Regions from separate parts of the Homo sapiens genome. Here regions 1, 2, 3, 4, 5 and 6 are each linked to region 7. Evidence: promoter capture Hi-C in 16 types of primary human blood cells and fetal thymus (Javierre and others, 2016). All regions are on one chromosome and are shown on one strand. The core of a region is centred on a gene start or on the middle of the fragment in contact, and the rest is flanking DNA. Distances in the headings are between cores, read along the strand shown.

Region 1 (2,907 bases), core at 408-2,907, 750 kb after region 7:
AGTTTGGGCAATTCTAAGTCTTTCATCTGACATTGCTTCCCTCAGGAAAAGGGCTGGACAAGGCTCATACCTCATCACAGGGGAATTGGACATCCGGAATGTCTGTCACATCAAAAATTGCATCCTAAGTGGGCAGATGGCCCACACACAACTGACAATCATAGTTCACAACTTTGGGTGACTAAGGAAGGAGGGTAGCCTCTCTATGAGGTCAGCCCTCCAGGATGCCATAAAAACTGGCTGCTGGTGTCAGGATGCTTTGATTATTAACACTGAGAGGAAGAATACCTCCTGGCTCTTGGGCTTGACATGTGGCTCACTGTAATCCGGGGGACAGGGCAATGCCCCCTTAGTCCTGGCACCCCAGGAACTAAACTGCTCTCACTGTGGCCTCTGGGGCCTCAACATCTGCCTCCCCTTTCCTTTTCCTCCATCATGGCCTCCATGACAGCCTATGACAAAACACACATTGGCCAGCCTTGGCAAGGTGACAGGCGGGTATGGTAATAGCAATCTCAGGAGGGCTCTTCTGTTGCTGTGTAGAAAATGAACCAAGTAGCATAGAATCGTGACCAGCTTTCCACACCTGGCTGGAGCACTCCTGGGGCCTTCAGTAGGGACAGTTACTATCTGTAGCAGAGAAGAAAAGAGCAACAATTCCATTAAACAAGGAAGTACTCAAAGGCAAATTCCTGATAGTTGGACCTAAGGAAACGGCCTTCCTGTAAAAATGGATCCTTCTCCAATCAAGTATTCATTATGCACCCTCTTTAGGCAAGGAGGGGGTATGATTCTTCAACTGCTTGCTGGAGGTTAGATTCTCTGCATAGGAATTTAAATTAGATGGGCCCTTAGCTGATCCTTTCACCATGCTTGTCCATGGGCGGCTCCCCGTCCCCCAGGTTCCCCACGGATGGGGTGTCATTAGGGACCCGCCATAGAGGACTCCGTCCCAGGCGGGCCCCCAGGACAAAACTATGGGCCACTTTGAGGGGCACAGAGACAGACGCTCACCGGTTGTGATGCGCAGGTAACAGAGAGCTCAATTCATCATGACAACCAGTCAGACAGGGGCTGTGAGCAGCCTTTGGACAGAACTTTCGCATAGCCTGGAGGCGTAAGACGAGGAAAGCAATTTAACACCTCAAGGCAGCGAGTCCAGGGCAGAGCCAGGACCAGAACTCAGGACTCCTGTCTCCCAGTCGGGATTCTCTTTCAGTCTTACAACTCTCGGCCTTGTCTCGCCCCATAGTGATAATTTCCACCGGATCACATTCTCCCTCCCTCCTCAGGCCGGCTGCTAGCTCCGCACAGGCACCAACCACTCCCCTTGGCAAGTGTTAACGCGTTCTCACCGTTAAAAGAGCTTTCCAAACTTGGGGGTCCCGCCGCCTCGGCTAGGCCTCATCTGCTCATGCGCACAGCCGCTTCCGTGCCGGCTCCCCTGGCCCCGAGAACTACATTTCCCAGTAGGCAATGGAAACCCAAAAGAAGTACGGAGAGCCGGGAGGGTCAATCATCACCTGAGAGTTGGCTCTTCGCTGGCTGGCTGGTTAATCAGTGCTCAAAGCTGCCTCCGCCTCCTGACTGGAGAGCGAACTAGCCCGGGCGGAGCCACAGTCCTAGAGGCTGAGCGCAGTCGGAGCTGTCCCATTTACCCGACCCGACGCCGGCGTGATGTGGCTTCCGCTGGTGCTGCTCCTGGCTGTGCTGCTGCTGGCCGTCCTCTGCAAAGTTTACTTGGGACTATTCTCTGGCAGCTCCCCGAATCCTTTCTCCGAAGATGTCAAACGGCCCCCAGCGCCCCTGGTAACTGACAAGGAGGCCAGGAAGAAGGTTCTCAAACAAGGTAGCAGGAGGGACCCTGGGGTCCGGGGCTGCACTCGAGGCTTTCTCACAGATTTGGGTTCTCATTTTGCCAAGGCAGCCGCTACCAGACGTGGGCCTTAGTTTCCCCATATGTAAAGTACTAGGAGGGCTTCCTTGCACGTGGAGGAGCCCCGCTTTAGTGTGCAACACTGTCGATAGCCTTTGCCCTAGTAGGCCCCGGGAATAGTAGTCCCAAGGGTGTGGTCATTGTCCTTGGTTTGCAAGGTGTTGGCACCCGCCCTGCCACTTGTAATCCCCGTGGCTCGTGGAACTGATAATCCCCGTGACTCATTCCTCCACTTGGTTCCAGGACCTTAACTTTTTCACCTACCCTCCCATGCGAGCTCAGGGGTGTGGGGGAGCAGCACAGAAATGCGTAGGAAATTGCGTTTTGCCCGTCCGGTGATTTAACAGGCTTTGCATGGTCCCAAATCGTAAGGATTGAACCCTAGTTCTGAAACATTGGCAGAGGTTCAACAAGGCGCCTCAGGCTCAGAGCCTGCTCTCCACTCTCATCTTTAAAACATATTTTGTGGTTGCTTCTAGAGTTTAAAGAGTTCTGCTGCTTTAAAAAATAATGGATCACCTGTTTGATCTACGGAGTCCCTCTCACTTGTAAATTTTAGAATTCTCCGTGTCATATCTTGCTACACAATCGGAGACAGTACTGTTCTAAGTGGAAGGACTAATCATCTGGACTTCTGAGAACTGAGTTTTAGCTTGGACTCTGTCACTAATTTGCTGCATAACCATTAGCACCTACCTGGGCTGGTCTAAAAATGAGATGACTAGCTTAACTGCTTTTCAAACCGGATTGTGATCTATTAGTGGGCTATGAAATCAATTTAGTGAGTTGCAACTGGCATTATTTATTTATTTATTGAAACAGAGTCTCGCTCTATTGTCCATGCTAGAGTGCAGTGGCGCGATCTCCGCTCACCGCAACTTCCGCCTCCTGGGTTCAAGTGATTATCCTGCCTCAGCCTCCCGAGTAGTGGGCATGCCCAGCTAATTTTTGTATTTTTAGTAGAGACAGGG
Region 2 (3,042 bases), core at 39-2,538, 570 kb after region 7:
GCTCGTTGCCGGCCCCGGGATATCTGAGGGGCGCAGGCCCACCTTCTAGTCGTTTCCTGGTGAATGGCTCTGCTGAAGATGGCCGGAAAGCAGATTAATGAAGGTGCTGCCATCGATTTAAACAATCGCCCTCCTGCCCGCTCCCCTGCGCTAAAGTTTCTGAGGGATCCTCACCCTTCGTGGTTCGTGGACTTAAAAGTGGAGGCAGCGCTCCAGCCTTTCCCTCCAGAGAGAAAGGAGGCCGCTCCCAAGTCCGTCCTTGCCCCGTGGCCTTCCTGTTCCTTTGAAGGGGGGGGGAATCGATGTTTCAATCCTCTGTTCAGGAGAATATGGAACGAACATTTCTTTTTTGGTGGGTGGGGGCTATTCGTTCCCTTGAATGTGCTTAAGCAGATCTCTTGACGGCGTGGAATGGGCTGTTTCATGAAGCTTTCACTTTAAAATGTCCACCTGCGTTTGTCCCAGTTTTGCCCAATAAAGGAATTACAGGGAAAAAGAGCGAAACAAAACTTGAGCCAGCAAGGAGTATGGAGTCCCGTTTGGAGGGAGCCCGCCTTGGGGGCGGGGGTCTCTGCAGCCTGTTCTGGGGCTGGGCCTCGGTGCAGGTCTGGTCGGGCTGGTGGCCTGGTGGCCCTGAGCGGAGCGCGTGACAAGAACGCCGGGTTTAATGAGGTTCTCAGGGAACGGCCTGCTCCTAGCATGGGATGTACTTTACGCTGGGGAGGTGAAGGAGACCCCTAGTAACAGTCTCCAGCTGCCTACTGCTGGCGGCAGTAGAACAAGGTGCATTCCCAAGAACAATCCTCTCCGTCGGTGCAGGAGGAAAGGTGGGATTTGCTAAAGGCTCAGTGGGAAACAAAGGAAGCACTTGGGCTGTGCTGGGGGCATCCACAAAGAAGATAAAGGGCTCCTCCCCAGACTCAGTGACCACATCCACGGTCGCTCAAAGCAGGCAGCAAGAAAAGGTTCGACCACAAAAGAGACAATAGGTGATGATATTTTTATTCGTTGCTTTTTACTTTTCAAGCTAACCCTTCATGGGAAAGTAACTGTATAAGACTATTAAATTTTTTTGTTATTTTTTAAAGGAGAATGCCAATTTATTAACTTACAATGTGTAATAAAATTGTCAACTGGAACAAAATGCGTGTGTAGGCTGGTCAGTGCATTATCTCCCAGCAGAAAAATCTATATGGGAAGCCAGAATATAACTAGAAGGTTATTTTATTAGGGAGTCAGAACAAGGAGCGTAAAGTCAATGATTGGCTCATTAAATCCTGATACCCCTGTGCTACCAACTCCACAGTGGGGCTAGGCCTGCCAAGGAGATGAGATTTAGCTGTACATAGTTGCTTACCTACTTCTCTCACTTGTGAATAGTGTGTAGGTGTAATACAGTAAGAGTAGGGGTTTGGAGTCACGACCTCTCTATGCATCAGTATCCTCGTTCTGTAAAATTGGAATATTAATAGTACATCATAGGATTGTTTCAAGGATTCAAATAGTGCAAGTAGAGTCTTTAGCACAGTATCTAGTACATAATTTGTTTTAATGTAAGCTGTAAAAAAATTAACTATATTTGCTGTGAATTACTTTTCAGTGGCTTTCAATTGCTGTCGGGATACGGACTAAAATCTCTACATACTCAAGGCCCCAGTGTGATTTGGCTGCTACTTCTGCAACCTTACCTTGTGCCACACTCTCCTTTCTGTGTTCTACTTGGATTTTTTAGTTAGTAGCAGTTAATTTTATTAATTTCATAGTATCAAAACAAAGGAGGACACATTTTCATTTATTTTATATTATTCGTATTGTCCCTTCCTCCCTTCCACAAATATTTATGAGCACATCTGTGAGTCAGACCCAGGAGCAAATGCTATAACAATCCTGGTCTCTGCCCACTCGGCGCTCTAAATGTGGGGAGATGCCTGGCTAACTCCTTATCCTTCTCACTCCAGCTCAGCTACCACTTCCTGGATGAAGCCTTCATCTACACAGATTTGTCACAGGGGCCTGTGTTTTATTTCATGGCACTAAGTGCAGTTTCAAATTATAGATTTGGTGATTATTTGATGAATGTCTCCAATTCCCAGTTAGGCTTGTAAGCTCCATGATAATGAGAAGGTGGGCTGTTTTGCTCAAGCTTTGTTACTGAATGCCTGGCACACACAAGGTGCTTAGAAATGTTCAAGAGGGAGAGACAAGAAAGGAAGGGAAGGAAACGGAAAATGAACGAATATAAAGATGGCAGAAGGGGGCGGGGCACGGTGGCTCACGCCTGTAATCCCAGCACTTTGGGAGGCCGAGGCGGGGTGGATCACGAGGTCAGGAGATCCAGACCATCCTGGCTAACACGGTGAAATCCCATCTCTACTAAAAATACAAAAAATTAGCTGGGCGTGGTGGCGGGCGCCTGTAATCCCAGCTGCTTGGGAGGCTGAGGCAGGAGAATGATGTGAACCCGGGAGGTGGAGCTTGCAGTGAGCTGAGACCGCACTACTGCACTCCAGCCTGGGCGACGGAGCAAGACTCCGTCTCAAAAAAAAAGATGGCAGAAGGAAGCAGAGAAATGAGAGACTCTGGCGATCATGTGAAATCAATGGAAAGAGGTCCTGCTTTGTTTTAGTCGTAAGCATTGTAATTAATAAAATTAAGACTTCTTTGTTAACAGGGAAGCACATGGCCATCCTGTTCTGACAGGAATAAGATTTCTGATTTCATAGATGCGTGTCCTAAGGGTGAACTAAACCAGGAGAAATTGTTGGTTTATTTCCTGTTTATCGTTAATGAATTTGTTGAATGTGAAGTGTTGTAAAGCACGTAGGAAAAATCTAATCACTGCCTAAAGGCTTCAGATTTCTCAAGCCAGAGAACATTAATGTAGCAGTAACCCTACAAAAAAGGCAAAGTTGGGATTGGATAAAAATGGTATTTGTGACTCAAACAGCAAATAAAATAACTCCTTATTAGCCTGTCAGTCATGGGGAGAGTTCCAGAAAACATTTGCAGTGCAAGAAGCTGTTGATGTGGCAGGAGAAAAGA
Region 3 (2,787 bases), core at 268-2,767, 550 kb after region 7:
GGTAAAACTTGAAACTCATTCAGAATGGCCAGCTCTGATCATAGAGAATTAAGAGGCAGTTTTGATAGAATATCTCTGAAAAGTTCCGTTGTGGGGATATTTGTTGAGATGGCATCTCACTGTGTCGCCCAGGCTAGAGTGCAGTGGCGTGATCATAGCTCACTGCAGCCTCAACCTTCTTGTGTTTAGGTGATCCTTCCATCTCAGCCTCCTGAGTAGCTGGAACAACAGGTGTGTGCCACCACACTCAGCTAATTTTTAAAATTTTTTGTAGAGATGGGATCTCACTATGTTGCTCAGGCTAGTCAGAAGTTCCATTTTTATGACTTTATGCATTTTGAAAAAATCACTTATCATTTATTCAGGGTTTTCCACATCGCAGGCACTATACTAAATATTTAGAGTTTTTCCTCATTAAAACCCTGTAAGGTCGATGGTGCTGTTCACATTTTATGTTTTTTGGAGTCAGGGTCTTGCTCTGTCACTGAGGCCAGAATGCAGTGGTGCAGTCATAGCTCACTGCAACCTCAAACTCCTGGGCTCCAGAGATTCTCTCGCTTTAGCTTCCCAAAATGTTGGTATTATAGGTATGAACTACTGAGCCTGGCCTGTTCACATTTTAAAGATAAAGAAGCTAAGTATTATTGACGAGTGAAGAATTTGCCTAAGGTCAGCTAGCAGTTAAGAAACAGAAGTGAGTCCAGGTGTTCATGACTGCAGAGTCCAGTGCTCTTGACCACAGTGTAAGCTGCCCCTTTCCCAGCTTCTACTTCTTGAAAACTTGCTTTGCTTCTGCTTCCCCAGAGTACATCTGGTGTTAGTAGCCTGGGTCTAATCAGTTCTCTTCCAGAATACAAGCTGTTAGCAGGAACCCTCTTATACTGGATCCTGGCACCCAGGTCTATGAAATGTTAGTTTATGTTGTGTGTTACTCTGCTGTTGAGGGTTTTCATTTTTTTTTAAAGATAATACACCGCATATTTATTTACACATACATAGCTTTTCAAACACTCCATCAAATTCCTCCCCTTTTTCAGTAATTTTCTAGTATTGTAGTCCTTTTTTCCTGATTTGATCCATTAGAACAAACTCAACTGGGAGCTAACAAGAAATACTGAACTTTTTGCTGTTATAACTTAGTAGCAATATTTCTTCTATGACTTGTATAATCATGTTAGAATTTGCTCATATAATTCTAAAAGGTCTCAGAATAACCAGGGAGGATATGGGAGATGTGCCCAGGATAGATAGGATTATCGTGTATAAAAGGAAGGATGGAGATGTAGCTGCATTAAGCAGCTCCCCCCTCAATGTTTACCTCCCTCGGTGTAGGTCTGTGGACGGTCTGCTGAATGCCCATAGGAGGAATGCCCACGTGCCCCTTTGGAACTATGCAGTGCTCCGTGGCCAGGTACAGCATTTTAGGACAGAGGGAGGAGCTCCTTGACAGCCATGTGGTCAGCATGGCCATCCCACTGCCAGACTACACTCTCCGCTGCCTCCCTGGATCTTCTGTTTTTAGTTTTTACCCTTTGCTGGAAAGCTAGGCTGGCTTCTCATTTTTTCCAATCCCTTAATCTCTGAATTATCTTATTTGTCAAGGAAAGACTAGAGCTTTGTCCCTGCTAGATTGGAATCCTCATGACAAAGAGAAAGGATTCAGTCTGTGCTTTATGACTTCTTCCTTGGTGCCTGATACTGTCGCTGACATTGGTTGGATGTCAATAAATGCTGTTTGGATGAGGCGAATTTCTGAGATGAATGAATAGAAGATGGGGTCTATTCTTCCTTGGGCCCTGGACTCAGATCAGTATTTATTTTATTCATTTAAAAAATATATATAAGTAGATTATTTGGGTCAAGGACTGTAATATTTGGGTCAAGGACTGTAACTCAGGAGCATGGATTCAAGTTGTCCTAACTATATGCTCCTTATTTTATTCTTGCCTATCTGTAGAAAAGATTCTTTTTGCTTGAACTTTGTGTCACATTTTATTTTCAGATCTTCATTGTGTACTTCATTGCGGGTGTGAAAAAGCTGGATGCAGACTGGGTTGAAGGCTATTCCATGGAATATTTGTCCCGGCACTGGCTCTTCAGTCCCTTCAAGTGAGTGGCAGTCATGGTGGAGGCCTCTTTGAGGCATGGGTACAGAGCAGGTGACTCATCTCTCTCAGTAATGGCACCTGTTCCTACTTTGCCTGAATTTGCCACATGCCTTCCTTTGTCCACTCATTTCCCTATTCAGCAGAAGCAGAGTCAGTGGTATCAAAAGATTGAGCCCTAGCTGCTCTTGGGAGATATATGGTATAGATAGGCAAGAAAGGAAAAGAAATTTAAAAAGGAAAGGAAAGAGCCGGAACTGGCTGACTTGGTGAGTGAGCCAGTGCCCTCAGCAGCTGCCTTGGATGGTGCCTGTGTCCTTGCCTTGCCACTCTAGCCTCCCATCAGAGCCCTGCAGCTGATGTACTGAGAAGATGGGCACTCACTGTTCAGGCTCTGACAAAACCATTATTATCACTTCCACAAAACAAAGGGTCACCTTTCTGATTTGTCTTCTTCCCATTTCTTCTTTCCTCTTGTTTTACTTTATTCTCTTTCTTCTTCCCTGTTATTTTCCAGTTCCTGAAGTTTGACTTCATTATGATGTTAGCCAAGCATTCACCTTTTAAAGTGTCCTCTCACTCATGACCTCCGTGGGGAACGTCCCTTCCACAACACACACACATCTCAGTCAAATTTTGTCCTAGGAGATCTGCCCTTGCTTATTACATAGGATATGTTAGA
Region 4 (3,049 bases), core at 29-2,528, 690 kb after region 7:
AACAAAAGGCTGATTGTTTTAACAGAAACACTCAGAAAACCAAACCTTTGAGAACTTCCCAGGCAGAAATAGGCATGCTTAGAGACCACGCGACCAGTTAATATGAACCCCACATCTGCTATCAAGAGAATCTGGGCAATCTACTTTGAATATCCCTTTTGGAGCTGTTTCTAGGTGTTTAGAGATCAAATGAAATATTTCTAGGAAGTAGCTCGCCTCGAACTAACCACACAAGAATGAAATCTCACTGACTTACAAGGTCATGGCTAAACCTTCATTGACTAGGTATTTTCCTCCTTCCTTGATGATCCAGTATGTAGCAGTATATGCCCAGATCAGGAAGTGTAAAAGCTGAAAATGGAGTTGGAGACAGAAAGTCCAATGTGTTGCTGGCCACTGTGGTGTCACTGCTCCCGATACAGGTGTAACCTGAGTCTCCCGCTTGGGAGCCAGAAATCAGCTGAGAAGAGGCCTCTGGAAAGAGGCTGCCCTGGCCCAGAAGGGTGGATGAAGTAGGGCCTCAGCACAGCTCATCCTACCGAGCAGGCCGGACCCTGAGTTCCTGGCTTGCACTGAAGGGTCTGGGTAAGTCCCTTCTGTAGCGCCTCAGAAGCTCCTTGGGCAACCTGGGAAGTTAGGACAAGAGCTCTGACATTTGACCCTGAGGTGTGAGGAGAGTGCTTTGAGAGAGAGGATGCTGAATGCGAGCGCCCTGGTTATTACCTCCTGGCAGCCTCCTAACCTCACCTTGACTCTGCCATGTAAAATTGATGCCTGGGCGCAGGGCGCCGACGATGGTCAGATACCGCGGCCTGCACACCCTGGGACCTACATCCCTGACCTGGAGGACCCAGGCCTTCCCCGGGCTTCACCACGAGTCCTGCCGGCCACACAGGGACCCTAACAGACCTAGTCCAGTCTCAGGGTCTGGGCTGCTCCTCCTTCCAGGAATGGGAGTTTGCTCTAGGCGATGGAGGAAGGGTTCAGGAGGCCACTCTGCCTGCTTAGCAGGCTGTGGGCCCAACCCCCCACCCACCATCTTCATCTCCCACGGCCCCAACCTCGTAGGGAGGGCAGGGCGGGGCTCAGGTTCGCAGAGAAGGAGGGCTCGGACCAGCGACTCCAGGGCAGAGGGGCGCGTGCAGGGGTGGGGAGCTGGGTTTGCGAGGAGAGAAGGCCATCTCTTCCCCAGCAGGGTAGCCCCCACCTAGCTACCGGGATCCCACCCTGGCTGGCGCAATCTTTGCGTCCGGATCAGCACCCAAGGCCCCGCCCAACGGCCCGCTGCCTGCCGGGATTTGTAGTTTGTAGGGGAGGGGCCAAAAGGCGCGCGCGCGCGCGTGTGTGTGTGTGCGTGTGTGACTGTGTGTTTGTGAGACTGTGTGTGTAAGTGTGTCCGGGGGTCTGTTGTGGTGCTCCCGTCCCCGAGGGCCCTCCGGACCTGGGCTCAGCAAAGGCACCACAGGCCGCAGCTTCCGAGACCCCGCCCCGCGGCCCACTGCCTGCTGGGATTTGTAGTTCTTAGGGGTCTAGGGCCCAGGCTGGGGCCGGGTTGGGGCCTTACACGCGTCCTGGCGTGTGGCTCTCCTGCGTCCTCGTTTTTCTCGTGAGCCCTGGATCTGGACAGTGGGCCCGGCGCGAGGCCCTCAACTCCGGCTGGGCTCCCGGTGGCACTTTCTGCCGACCCTGAGATGTACCCGCCACGCCTGCGGGACTGACCTCTAGGTGGGCAAACCGAGGCACAAAGAGGGGCGCGCTCTGGCCGGAGTCGGCCCTCTTGTGAGAATTTGGGCTGGGAGACCCAGCCCAGGCCTGGCAGGCAAGGCTGGGTCAGGCGAGGGTCCTGGGCCCTTTCGGTGTAAGAGTGTGCAAAATAATGAACAGGCCTGCCCAGGACTGGCTCTGCACATTAGCGCTAGTTACCTTACAGGCTTGACTGATCAGATTTTTATTTGGCACCACTACAGAGGGGAGCCCAGGGAGGGAGGAAGTCTCTCGTGACCAAGAAAACCTATGGTCCACCCTGGCCTACAACTCTGCTTTAACGACAAAAATAAACCGAGTTTGGGAGGGGGTGAGGAGGAGGGGTGTTTTGTAAACTGTGAAGTCCAGGTTATGAGTGAGGTGTTATTATCATCAGGATCAGACCTCAAAGCACTGGAGGAAAGGTCTGGGCCTTCAAGAGCCTCACCTCAAAAGGGAGGGTATGGCCGGGCGCAGTGGCTCACGCCTGTAATCCTAGCATTTTGGGAGGCTGAGGCAAGCAGATCACCTGAGGTCAGGGGTTCAAGACCAGCCTGGCCAACATGTCGAAACCCCATCTCTACTAAAAATAGAAAAAATTACCCGGGCGTGGTGGCACGTGCCTGTAATCCCAGCTACTCGGGAGGCTGAGGCAGGAGAATTGCTTGAACTCAGGAGGCGGAGTTTGCAGTGAGCCGAGATGGTGCCACTGCACTCCAGCCTGGGCAACAGAGCCAGACTCTGTCTCAAAAAAAAAAAAAAAAAAAAAAAGAGCTGAGATAGCTGTTTGCATGTGAAAGGACTCACAACTGGCACTAGCATGCGGTGATAGTGGGGAGGGCATGGACTCCCACTACATGGCTCCCATCTATCCTCTGCCGCTTACTAAGTGGGACCTAGAACAAGTGATTTTGACCTACTTTATCTCTCTTTATCTCTGTTTCCTCATCTGTCAAAGGAGGATAATAAGAGGATCCATGTTAGAGAGTAAATGCAAGGATTAAATGAGAAAATCATATCAAGGATAGCACCTGGCATATAGTGGCAGCACACAATAGTGTTAGCTGTTATGGTGTTGAGTACCCAGTGTGACGCTGGCTGTACAGGGGTAAACTTGTCTTCTGGGGGACTAGTCCCCCCATCCCAGGCACCTGGTGCCCTCCCCAGGCCACTCATGCTGTACTGGACAGTCCCACTTTCCCAAGAAGTCACAAGGAATTCCAGCATGTCACTGTTCTGGTTGCCCCTGAGCACCTAGCAGTGATTTAAGAAAAGGCAAAACCAAAGTTTTGGTTTTGAGCTTTAT
Region 5 (2,770 bases), core at 19-2,518, 520 kb after region 7:
CTTCATGCCTCAGCTAACAATTCCAGAAGAAGAGTACTACAGGGCCATGGCAGGACCCAATGGGAACACTTAAAAATCTTGCATACCACCCCAAAATGCTATGAAGGTTTTGAACTTTCCATATGCCAAGACTCCCAGAAAATTCTTGTTCTTGAGACCTGTGACAATGAATGGAACTGGGAGGAATAAAGACAGGGTGGGGGCTCCAACTTTCTTCTCCAAACATATACTCTTTGCCCTTCCAACAACTTGGACCTCAGATGAGAGAATTTTAGCCAGAAGGTATCCTCAGGAAGAAAAGAAATAGAAAAGCCAAAGGCAAAATGGGAAGAGAGAAAGTGCCTCACACATATAGGGATACTGAAAGGTCTTTATTACCCACTGGCCACCAACAGTTTCCCAGCCACATGCTGGGCCCTCTAGGTCTCTCCAGCCCACTCTAAGGACCCAAGAAATGCAGCCACAGTCCATCTCTCTTTTTTCTCTCCTTCCGGGGGACCAAGGTACCTTCTGGGGCATACAACATGGCAGCAGGGCCTCGGGAAGAGGGGTAGGAGGACCGAGCAGCATTCTCTGTAGAGGAAGACAGGAAAGGAGACCCTCTTGGCACACATTTATGGAGGGTTGTCCCTGAAGAGAAGGGCAGGTGGGAGAGGTTCCCTGTTACTTAAGAGAAGGCACCAGTGGCAAAGAGCACAATGAAGAGGATGATGATAAAAACAATCACGCAGATAAGGACAATCATCTTCACGTTCTTCCACCAGAATTTTCGAGCCACCTTCTGCGATGTCGTCTTGAAGTGCTCAGACTGTTGGGGAAAAGGCAGAGTGAGTGACCCAGTGGCTCCTCCCACTGGAACAAGATTATAAGAGTACAAGTGCAGCCCACAGGCCATACTTTTTTTTTTTTTTTGAGATGGAGTCTCGCTCTGTCACTCAGGCAGTGGCTCGATCTTGGCTCACTGCTGCCTCCACCTCCTGGGTTCAATTGATTCTCCTGCCTCAGCCTACTGAGTAGCTGGGATTACAGGTGCCCACCACCACGCCCAGCTAACTTTTGTATTTTTAGTAGAGAGGAGGTTTCACCATGTTGGCCAGGCTGGTCTTGAACTCCTGACCTCAGGTGATCCACTCGCCTTGGCCTCCCAAAGTGCTGGGATTACAGGCGTAAGCCACCACGCCTGGCCTTGTTTGTTTGTTTTTTGAGACAGTGTCTGGCTGTGTCACCCAGGCTGGAGTGCAGTGGCACAATCTCAGCTCACTGCAGCTTCCATCTCCAGGGCTCAAGCAATCCTCCCACCTCAGCCTCCCTAGTGCTGGGACTACAGGCACATGCCACCACGTTCAGCTCAAGCCATACATCTTAATACTGACACTGTAAGCTGAGGTAACAAACTGCTAAATAAAAGATGCTCTGGCCGGGTGCGGTGGTTCACGCCTGTAATCCCAGCACTTTGGGAGGCCGAGGTTGGTGGATCACCTGAGGTCAGTAGTTCGCGACCAGCCTAGCCAACATTGTGAAACCCCCTCTCTACTAAAAATACAAGAAAATTAGCCGGGTGTGGTGGCAGACGCCTGTAATCCCAGCTACTTAGGAGGCTAAGGCAGGAGAATCACTTGAACCTGGGAGGCGGAGGTTGCAGTGAGCCGAGATTGCGCCATTGCACTCCAGCCTGGGTAACAAAGCAAGACTCCATCTCAAAAAAAAAAAAAAAAAAAAAAAAATGCTGTATCTGCCTACCTTGACAAATGTACCTTCCTAAAAATCTGGAAGGCCGGGTTGAAATTTAGAATTCTCAGGATCCTAGGAGGTCTCCACCTAGATATGACTAGGGGTCCCCTTTCTCTTCTTACCCCTGCACACTGAGGGGTCCTCGACACCTGCTTACACCCAAGGGTACAACACTGGCAGCAAAATCTGCCCTTGGGAGGGCAGACCCTGGGACTGAGGGGTGCAGGCTCCAGGTGGGCACATCTCGCAGCTCCAGGACTCCTTGCCCCATCGGGACTGCTGAGGCTGGAGGAGGGACCAGGACAGGATAGAGGGTTGGAAGTAAGGGAACTCCTCCTCCTCCACCCACTCTTCCCCATGCCCAGCAATTCAAGTTATAGACACTAAATTTCCTGGGGCTTGTCCAGACATGGTGGCTCAAGTCTGTAATCCCAGCACTTTGAGAGGCCAAGGCAGGTGGATCACCTGAGGTCAGGAGGTCAAGACCACCCTGGCCAACAAGGCAAAACTTCGTCTCTACTAAAAATACAAAAAATTAGCCAGGTGTGGGGGTGCACACTGTAATCCCAGCTACTCAGGAGGCTGAGGCACGAGAATCGTTTGAACCCAGGAGGTGAAGTTTGCAGTGAGCCAAGATTGCACTCACTCTAACCTGGGCAACAGAGTGAGGCTCTGTCTAAAAAAAAAAAAAAAATTCCCGGGGCCATGCTCCCCAAATTAAGCTACAATTAAGCTACAGAAACAGGCAATGAGCCCCAGGGAGACAAGGGAGCAATACCCAAGAGCCAAGAGTTCACACAGGACTCAGAAAGCCAGAGCCAGCCTCCCCGCTGAACACAGAACTTGAGGCTCCAGACTTTGCTCAACTTTGGAGTTACTTCCTCCCTGAAACAGCTGGCCTCAGCCCCTGGCTGGAGAGAGAGAAGAATGAGGTCTAGCAAGATGTGTGGGAGATATTATTTTAGCCTTCATCTAGCAGGGGACCCTGGGATCAAAGCATTTCACTGCTCTTTCCCCCTTCTTTTTAAAGCCTACTCAG
Region 6 (2,720 bases), core at 70-2,569, 780 kb after region 7:
AAGATCTAAAGTCACCCGGCGGCCAAAGGCCAGTGACTACCAACGTTTGGACCAGAAGGTAAGGAAGGAGGAGCCAGGTCCATGGGAGGGATAGGAGGGATAGGCAACGTCAGATGGACCCAGTAGTGGGCTTGCATTTGCCATGAAGCAGCAGTGGCTGATTCTGGGGATGCGGTTGCTGTTGCTGTTGCATTCGCCCTTTTTAGACAACAAACTAGAAACATCTAGATACACATATCTGTGACGTTAGAGCTAGCAGAGACCTTGGAATACTCTACAGCAGCTACCTCCCTTCACAGATGAGGAAATAGGCCCACGCAGAAACACTCTTTTTTTTTTTTTTCCGCTAAGTTTCTACTGCAAGTTAGTGGCAAACTCAGGACCTGATAGCAACTCCCTAGTCTCCCAGTCCTGAGCTTTCTGCATTCTGCCAGCGCTCCATAAACTTTAATAGGCATTTGAATCACCTTGGGGAATTTTGATAAAAAGCATTATCTGATTCATTAGATGTGGGGTGGAGCCTATATTTCTACATTCTTTTTTTTTTTTTTGGAGATGGAGTTTTGCTCTTGTTGCCCAGGCTGGAGTACAATGGTGCAATCTCGGCTCACTACAACCTCTGCTGCCTGGGTTCAAGCGATTCTTCTGCCTCAGCCTCCCGAGTAGCTAGGATTACAGGCGCCACCACCACGTCCAGCTAATTTTGTATTTTTAGTAGAGATGGGTTTCTCCATGTTGGTCAGGCTGGTCTCGAACTCCCAACCTCAGGTGATCCGCCCGCCTCGACCTCCCAAAGTGCTGAGATTACAGGCATAAGCCACCGTGCCTGGCCTGTGTCTACATTCTTAGGAAGTTCCCAGGTGAAACCAAATGCCACTGGATCCACACTTTGTGTGGTAAAGTGCTAGACTGTGCTCCCTGGAAACACGAGCCTGGAAGCACATAGGCCTCCAACTCCCCACATCAGCCTGGCTTAAGCACCGTAGGCTGGAGTTCCTGAGTACAGCCAATCCATTCCTCTGTCAGACAGATAAGCCCTCCTTCCACCCCATGGCAGCAGAGCTAAGCAAGGGTCTCTCTAAAGACAACCTGTCTAAGCAGGAAGACTGTACTCTCACTGCGTTGCTACCAGCATGCACCCTTCCTTCTGCTTTCAGCATAGCAACAGCCAGGACATTGGCAAAGAACCATTGGTGGCCCAACTATGAATTGTTCCCAGACTTCCTGCAGGGAACACGATTCTCTTGCACAACTCAATATTAGCTACAGAACGAGCCACTGAGCTCAGAATATCTTTGCTAACTAGTCCAGTAGGCTAGCTTTACAATTTAGCTCTGGACTACTGCCTTTTCAGATAATTGACTTTAAGGGTTTTCCCCCTTTTATGATTTTTGTTTGTTTGTTTTTGAGACGGAGTCTTGCTGTGTCGTCCAGGCTGGAGTGCAGTGGCACAATCTTGGCTCACTGCAACCTCCACCACCCGGGTTCAAGCAGTTCTCCCTCTTCAGCCTCCCGAGTAGGTGGGATTACAGGCGCCCACCACCACGCCCAGCTAATTTTTAGATTTTTAGTAGAGATGGGGTTTCACCCTTTTGGCCAGGCTGGTCTTGAACTGCTGACCTCAAATGATCCACCCACCTCAGCCTCCCAGAGTGCTGGGATTACAGGCGTGAGCCACCACACATGGCTTATGATTTTTAAAAAAATACACATGTGGCTGGGCATAGTGGTTCACGCCTGTAATCCCAACAGTTTGGGAGGCAGATCACCTGAGGTCAGGAGTTCTAGATCAGTCTGGCCAACATGGTGAAATACCATCTCTACTAAAAATACAAAAATTAGCTGGGCATGGTAATCCCAGCTACTACTGAGGAAGCCGAGGTGGGAGAATCGCTTGAACTTCGGAGGCAGAGGTTGCAGTGAGCCAAGATCATGCCACTGCACTCCAGCCTGGGCAACAGAGCAAGACTCCGTCTCAAAAAAGAAGAAAACCACCACCAACAAAAAACACATGTAAATAATTCACAACAGTACAGAACAGTATGAAGCAGAAGCCAGGATTCCTCTCTCTCCATCAAGTGTATATCTTTCTAGTGTTAGGTTTCATTTCAAACTTTAAAAATCATTTTGTGTGCTATTTTAATTAATTGCTGTTTCTGTGGTGGTGGGTCAGTATGTCTTAATTCTGAATGTTTTCCCTGCACCTCCTAAAAGATCTTTTTTCCCCTAAGTCCTAACAGAATGGTATATTCCTCTGGAAAAAGATGAACGTCACCAATGGATTGTGCTGCTCTCGTTTCAGCTTTGATTTTTTTGTCCTTGAGAACCTTGTCCTCCCTGCTGATTTGTTTCTAAATCAAAAGAAATGAAGAAAAAAGTACTGTGACCTGAGAGACACCCTCCTCTAGAATTTAGTGGCGGGTCTGGGCTGGCAGAGGTAGGGGGCTGCTTTGGGCTTTGCACCTGCACTTTGGTGACATTGTTCTTCTGTGTTCCCTTTATTTATGCTGGTGGCTTCCATCCGTTCCTCCTCTGAGGGTGAGTGGAGGGGTATATGGAAACACGGCTATGACCAAAGGGAGATCCCAGCCTGGGCAGGCTGCGCTGCTGACCACCCTCCCTGGGGCCCGGGCTCTGTAGGAAAGTTGGTCCTTGACTGTGGCATTGCACTCTGCACTGTTTCTCTCTGCAGACCTAGGGGAAAACTGCAGGTGGAAGTG
Region 7 (2,900 bases), core at 49-2,548:
GCATTGAATGGCAGCACAAAGGTTTCTGCAGTATCAGATGGAGTGGTTTCTCTTTCTTGAGGGGAACTAAGGGAGAGTACATATAAAAACATATTGTAAATTACATACCCCACTTATACCTCACAAACTTTTCGGATGGTTATTACCAACTCTAGTCTGCAGATGAGGAAATCTGTCTATTATCATCCAATTAAGTGAATGGCAAACACTAAACCTAAAATTAGGCTTTTAGCAAGTTTTCACTACAAATTACTGCCTCTCATATTCCCACAATGCCACTGTTTGTACTGAGTGAAAAAAAAATTACACAGATAGGTCATACATGTTCCAAGCTATAACTATCACAGATCAAAAGGGCATAGTCAGATCTTTTAGACTTTTCTGCTTTTACGAAAACCTGATAACTTCTTTAGCCAAAGTCCCCACGGTGGCGACCAGAGACTGCCTTTTATTTGGGAAGATCTTGTACGTTCTCCTCGCTCCTCCTGATTGGGTTAAAATGAGTAATGGCGGATAATTTTTAATTTGGGGTAGTGTTGCTAATAGCCACACTCACTGGAACGCAAGCTTCATGAGAGCAGGGTCCTAGCTTTGCGGATGGTGTTAACTACAGAATATTGCAAGCAACCAATAAGTATTTCTCTAATGAATAAATGCGTTGCGAATCCTATTTCAAAGGGCCACCTCCGCGTACCTGGTCTTAAGGGCACGCGACCGTTAAGGGCGCGCATGAGCAAACCATTTCATCGTGCCTACTTCCACAGCCAGCTGGGAAACATAGGACTAAGGTGACTCCGCGGTCTTCTTCGCGGATACCCTAAGCGTCTCTTACCTGCAGCTGCGTGCCTGTTCACACAAACCCGCCCGCCGACCCGTCAGCGGCTGGCCAAGCCTGCTGCGGAGGCCCAGCCAGCGAACAGCAGATACAACCGCCATCTTTGATTTCTCTGCAGAGCATGTTGGGAAAGCGTGCCTCGACCTTCAGGAAGGTGGGGCGCAGTGGGCGGGGAGCAGGGAACAGCTCCGCTATTGGCTGAAGCGGAAGAAGACGAAAGCAATCATAAAATGGGAGGTTGCAAGCTCATGGTTTGAAAGACTTCGTCACGGAAGCTAAAAGCTCTATACACCCGATTTGCCTCGGAGGAATTTTCCTAAATGATTATTTTGATGTCTTATATATCTTTGATTGTTTTCAAAACAAAAGAGCGAGCAGAGAGTCGTACAACTATTTGTTCCCCCCCCATGTAGAAGTGATCTCATCCACGTAAATGTCGTTCCTGCGACCGCTTCCGCGCGCAAGCGCACGTTGAATCGCGTGGTGACTCCGGGCTTGAGGTTGAATTAAGAATAGTCAGGTGGTGAGTGGAACGTCTCTTGGGGTGTCGGAATTCAAAACGGACCTGGAGGATGTTGATCTCCAAGAACATGCCCTGGCGGCGGCTGCAGGGCATTTCCTTCGGGATGTATTCGGCTGAAGAGCTCAAGTAAGGAGTTGGTCGGGTAGCGTGCCCAGCCTGGATCTTGAGGTCGGCGCCCTAAACTACGATTCCCAGAAGCGCTTTTGCCCAGTCTATCCTCTTGAGTCCAGGCTTGTCTGGCGCTTGTCCTGCTGGGAGCCGTAGTTCTGGGAACGTTCCTGGGCCGGCGTGGACTGCCTGGATAAGAGGCCGGTGGTGCTGGGGGAAAGAGTTTGCGCTGAGGTAGGGGAATATAAGGGTGGGGAGGGTCCTGGTCTGCAGCGTTATCATCTGCCAGTCTCCTCGTTAACTAACAAGCATTTGTGGAATTAACCATAGTGTACCTGACATGGTTAATTAGGCACGTAGTAAGTTTCCTCTTGTTTGTAAAATGATTGTCCTTCAAGTGTCAGTTCAGGCGTTAACTTCTCTTTGCTAGGACCCTGCTATATTCTCGGTCTGGTTGTTAAATCAAGGGAACTCTCTTTAGTCTTCATTTTGATCAAGGTAGCATTTGACATTCTCCAATGCACTCTCTTGAAACTTTCCTTTCTTCCAGAACCTTATTTGTCTTCAAGTTCTCCTATTTTTATGACAAATACTTCTACCTCCCTCTCTTCCTCTATCGATCTATAACCTCACAAACATTTATTGAGCATCCAGTTTTTTCCAGGCACCAAGCTAGGCGTTAATGACACATTGGTGAGCAAGGTCTGTACCTCATTTTACTCCTTAAATGTTGATGTTCTTCAAGATTCTATTCTAGTAATGTTTTCTTCATGGTAAATATTGTCCCTAGACAATCTCACCACTTTCATGATTTATAGTCTCAAATTTAAATCCCCAACGCAAATTTATTTCCCTGATTTTCAGACCCATTTGTTCAGCTGTCTGTACATCTTTAATTGAATTTCACACAGAGATCTTAAATGCATATCAAAAACTCAACATGGCCTAAATGCATATCAGAAACTCAACATGGCCGGGCACGGTGGCTCACGCCTGTAATCCCAGCACTTTGGGAGGCCGAGGCCGGCGGATCACGAGGTCGGGAGATCGAGACCATCCCTGGCCAACATGGTGAAACCCCGTCTCTACTAAAAATACAAAAATTAGCTGGGCGTGGTGGCGGGCACCTGTAGTCCCAGTTACTCGGGAGGCTGAGGCAGGAGAATCGCTTGAACCCAGGAGGCGGAGGTTGCAGTGAGCCGAGATTGTGCCACTGCACTCCAGCCTGGCGACAGAGCAATACTCTGTCTCAAAAAAAAAAAAAAAAAAACTCAACACGGCATCCCTCTTCAAAGGGAGGGGTTACTTACCCCTCCAAAATGGTGTACGTAGTGCAAAATAGTCACTAGAAACTGGAAAATTATTCTAGATCTCTCCTGACATATAACTTATTTATTGGGCTCTTACTTTGTGTCACCTACATGTCTATTTGTT

The links. Contacts are between HindIII fragments. The CHiCAGO score rates a contact against its expected background, and 5 or more counts as called.
Region 1: a contact is called between the fragment with the promoter of RETSAT here and the fragment with the promoter of POLR1A in region 7, in 2 of 17 cell types (monocytes and neutrophils). The highest score is 9.2, in monocytes.
Region 2: a contact is called between a fragment that was not itself captured here and the fragment with the promoter of POLR1A in region 7, in 1 of 17 cell types (fetal thymus). The highest score is 7.5, in fetal thymus.
Region 3: a fragment that was not itself captured here is called in contact with the fragment with the promoter of POLR1A in region 7 in 2 of 17 cell types (monocytes and neutrophils); the score reaches 6.6 in monocytes.
Region 4: a contact is called between the fragment with the promoter of SH2D6 here and the fragment with the promoter of POLR1A in region 7, in 4 of 17 cell types (fetal thymus, neutrophils, megakaryocytes and 1 more). The highest score is 6.0, in fetal thymus.
Region 5: a contact is called between a fragment that was not itself captured here and the fragment with the promoter of POLR1A in region 7, in 2 of 17 cell types (monocytes and fetal thymus). The highest score is 5.6, in monocytes.
Region 6: a fragment that was not itself captured here is called in contact with the fragment with the promoter of POLR1A in region 7 in 1 of 17 cell types (fetal thymus); the score reaches 6.3 in fetal thymus.

What each region holds. Positions count from the first base shown.
Region 1 is chr2:85,353,278-85,356,184 of GRCh38, reverse strand. RETSAT (retinol saturase) reads left to right here and starts at 1,657. Exons shown (of 11, transcript NM_017750.4): 1 at 1,657-1,849. The coding sequence starts at 1,678. ELMOD3 (ELMO domain containing 3) reads right to left here and starts at 1,416. Exons shown (of 14, transcript NM_001135022.2): 1 at 1,356-1,416; 2 at 1,015-1,109; 3 at 587-630. RefSeq lists enhancers at 960-1,019, 654-1,153, 1,190-1,589, 1,154-1,655. The HindIII fragment of the contact is 19,367 bases long and covers 1-2,907 here.
Region 2 is chr2:85,535,564-85,538,605 of GRCh38, reverse strand. PARTICL (promoter of MAT2A antisense radiation-induced circulating long non-coding RNA) reads left to right here. Exons shown (of 1, transcript NR_038942.1): 1 at 1-1,139. Among named protein-coding and RNA genes, the nearest start is that of PARTICL, 1.8 kb to the left of the region's middle. RefSeq lists enhancers at 1-30, 431-520. The HindIII fragment of the contact is 1,714 bases long and covers 432-2,145 here.
Region 3 is chr2:85,554,806-85,557,592 of GRCh38, reverse strand. It overlaps GGCX (gamma-glutamyl carboxylase), which reads left to right. Exons shown (of 15, transcript NM_000821.7): 5 at 1,333-1,411; 6 at 2,003-2,109. Among named protein-coding and RNA genes, the nearest start is that of GGCX, 5.3 kb to the left of the region's middle. The HindIII fragment of the contact is 9,525 bases long and covers 1-2,787 here.
Region 4 is chr2:85,416,943-85,419,991 of GRCh38, reverse strand. SH2D6 (SH2 domain containing 6) reads right to left here and starts at 1,278. Exons shown (of 24, transcript NM_001394463.1): 1 at 1,062-1,278; 2 at 748-963. It overlaps LOC105374841 (a long non-coding RNA gene), which reads right to left. Exons shown (of 3, transcript XR_940316.3): 3 at 3,031-3,049. It also overlaps a transcript of CAPG not described here. RefSeq lists enhancers at 1,658-1,817, 1,296-1,831, 1,828-1,937. The HindIII fragment of the contact is 6,915 bases long and covers 1-3,049 here.
Region 5 is chr2:85,579,614-85,582,383 of GRCh38, reverse strand. VAMP8 (vesicle associated membrane protein 8) reads right to left here. Exons shown (of 3, transcript NM_003761.5): 3 at 353-808. The coding sequence ends at 668. Among named protein-coding and RNA genes, the nearest start is that of VAMP8, 3.4 kb to the right of the region's middle. RefSeq lists enhancers at 768-1,421, 1,422-2,076, 2,077-2,730. The HindIII fragment of the contact is 4,412 bases long and covers 1-2,770 here.
Region 6 is chr2:85,322,253-85,324,972 of GRCh38, reverse strand. TGOLN2 (trans-golgi network protein 2) reads left to right here. Exons shown (of 4, transcript NM_006464.4): 3 at 1-58; 4 at 2,232-2,720. The coding sequence ends at 2,237. Among named protein-coding and RNA genes, the nearest start is that of TGOLN2, 4.4 kb to the left of the region's middle. The HindIII fragment of the contact is 5,598 bases long and covers 1-2,720 here.
Region 7 is chr2:86,104,284-86,107,183 of GRCh38, reverse strand. POLR1A (RNA polymerase I subunit A) reads left to right here and starts at 1,298. Exons shown (of 34, transcript NM_015425.6): 1 at 1,298-1,484. The coding sequence starts at 1,408. It overlaps PTCD3 (pentatricopeptide repeat domain 3), which reads right to left and starts at 949. Exons shown (of 24, transcript NM_017952.6): 1 at 833-949. The coding sequence starts at 936. RefSeq lists enhancers at 639-898, 1,279-1,488, 1,689-1,778. The HindIII fragment of the contact is 4,349 bases long and covers 570-2,900 here.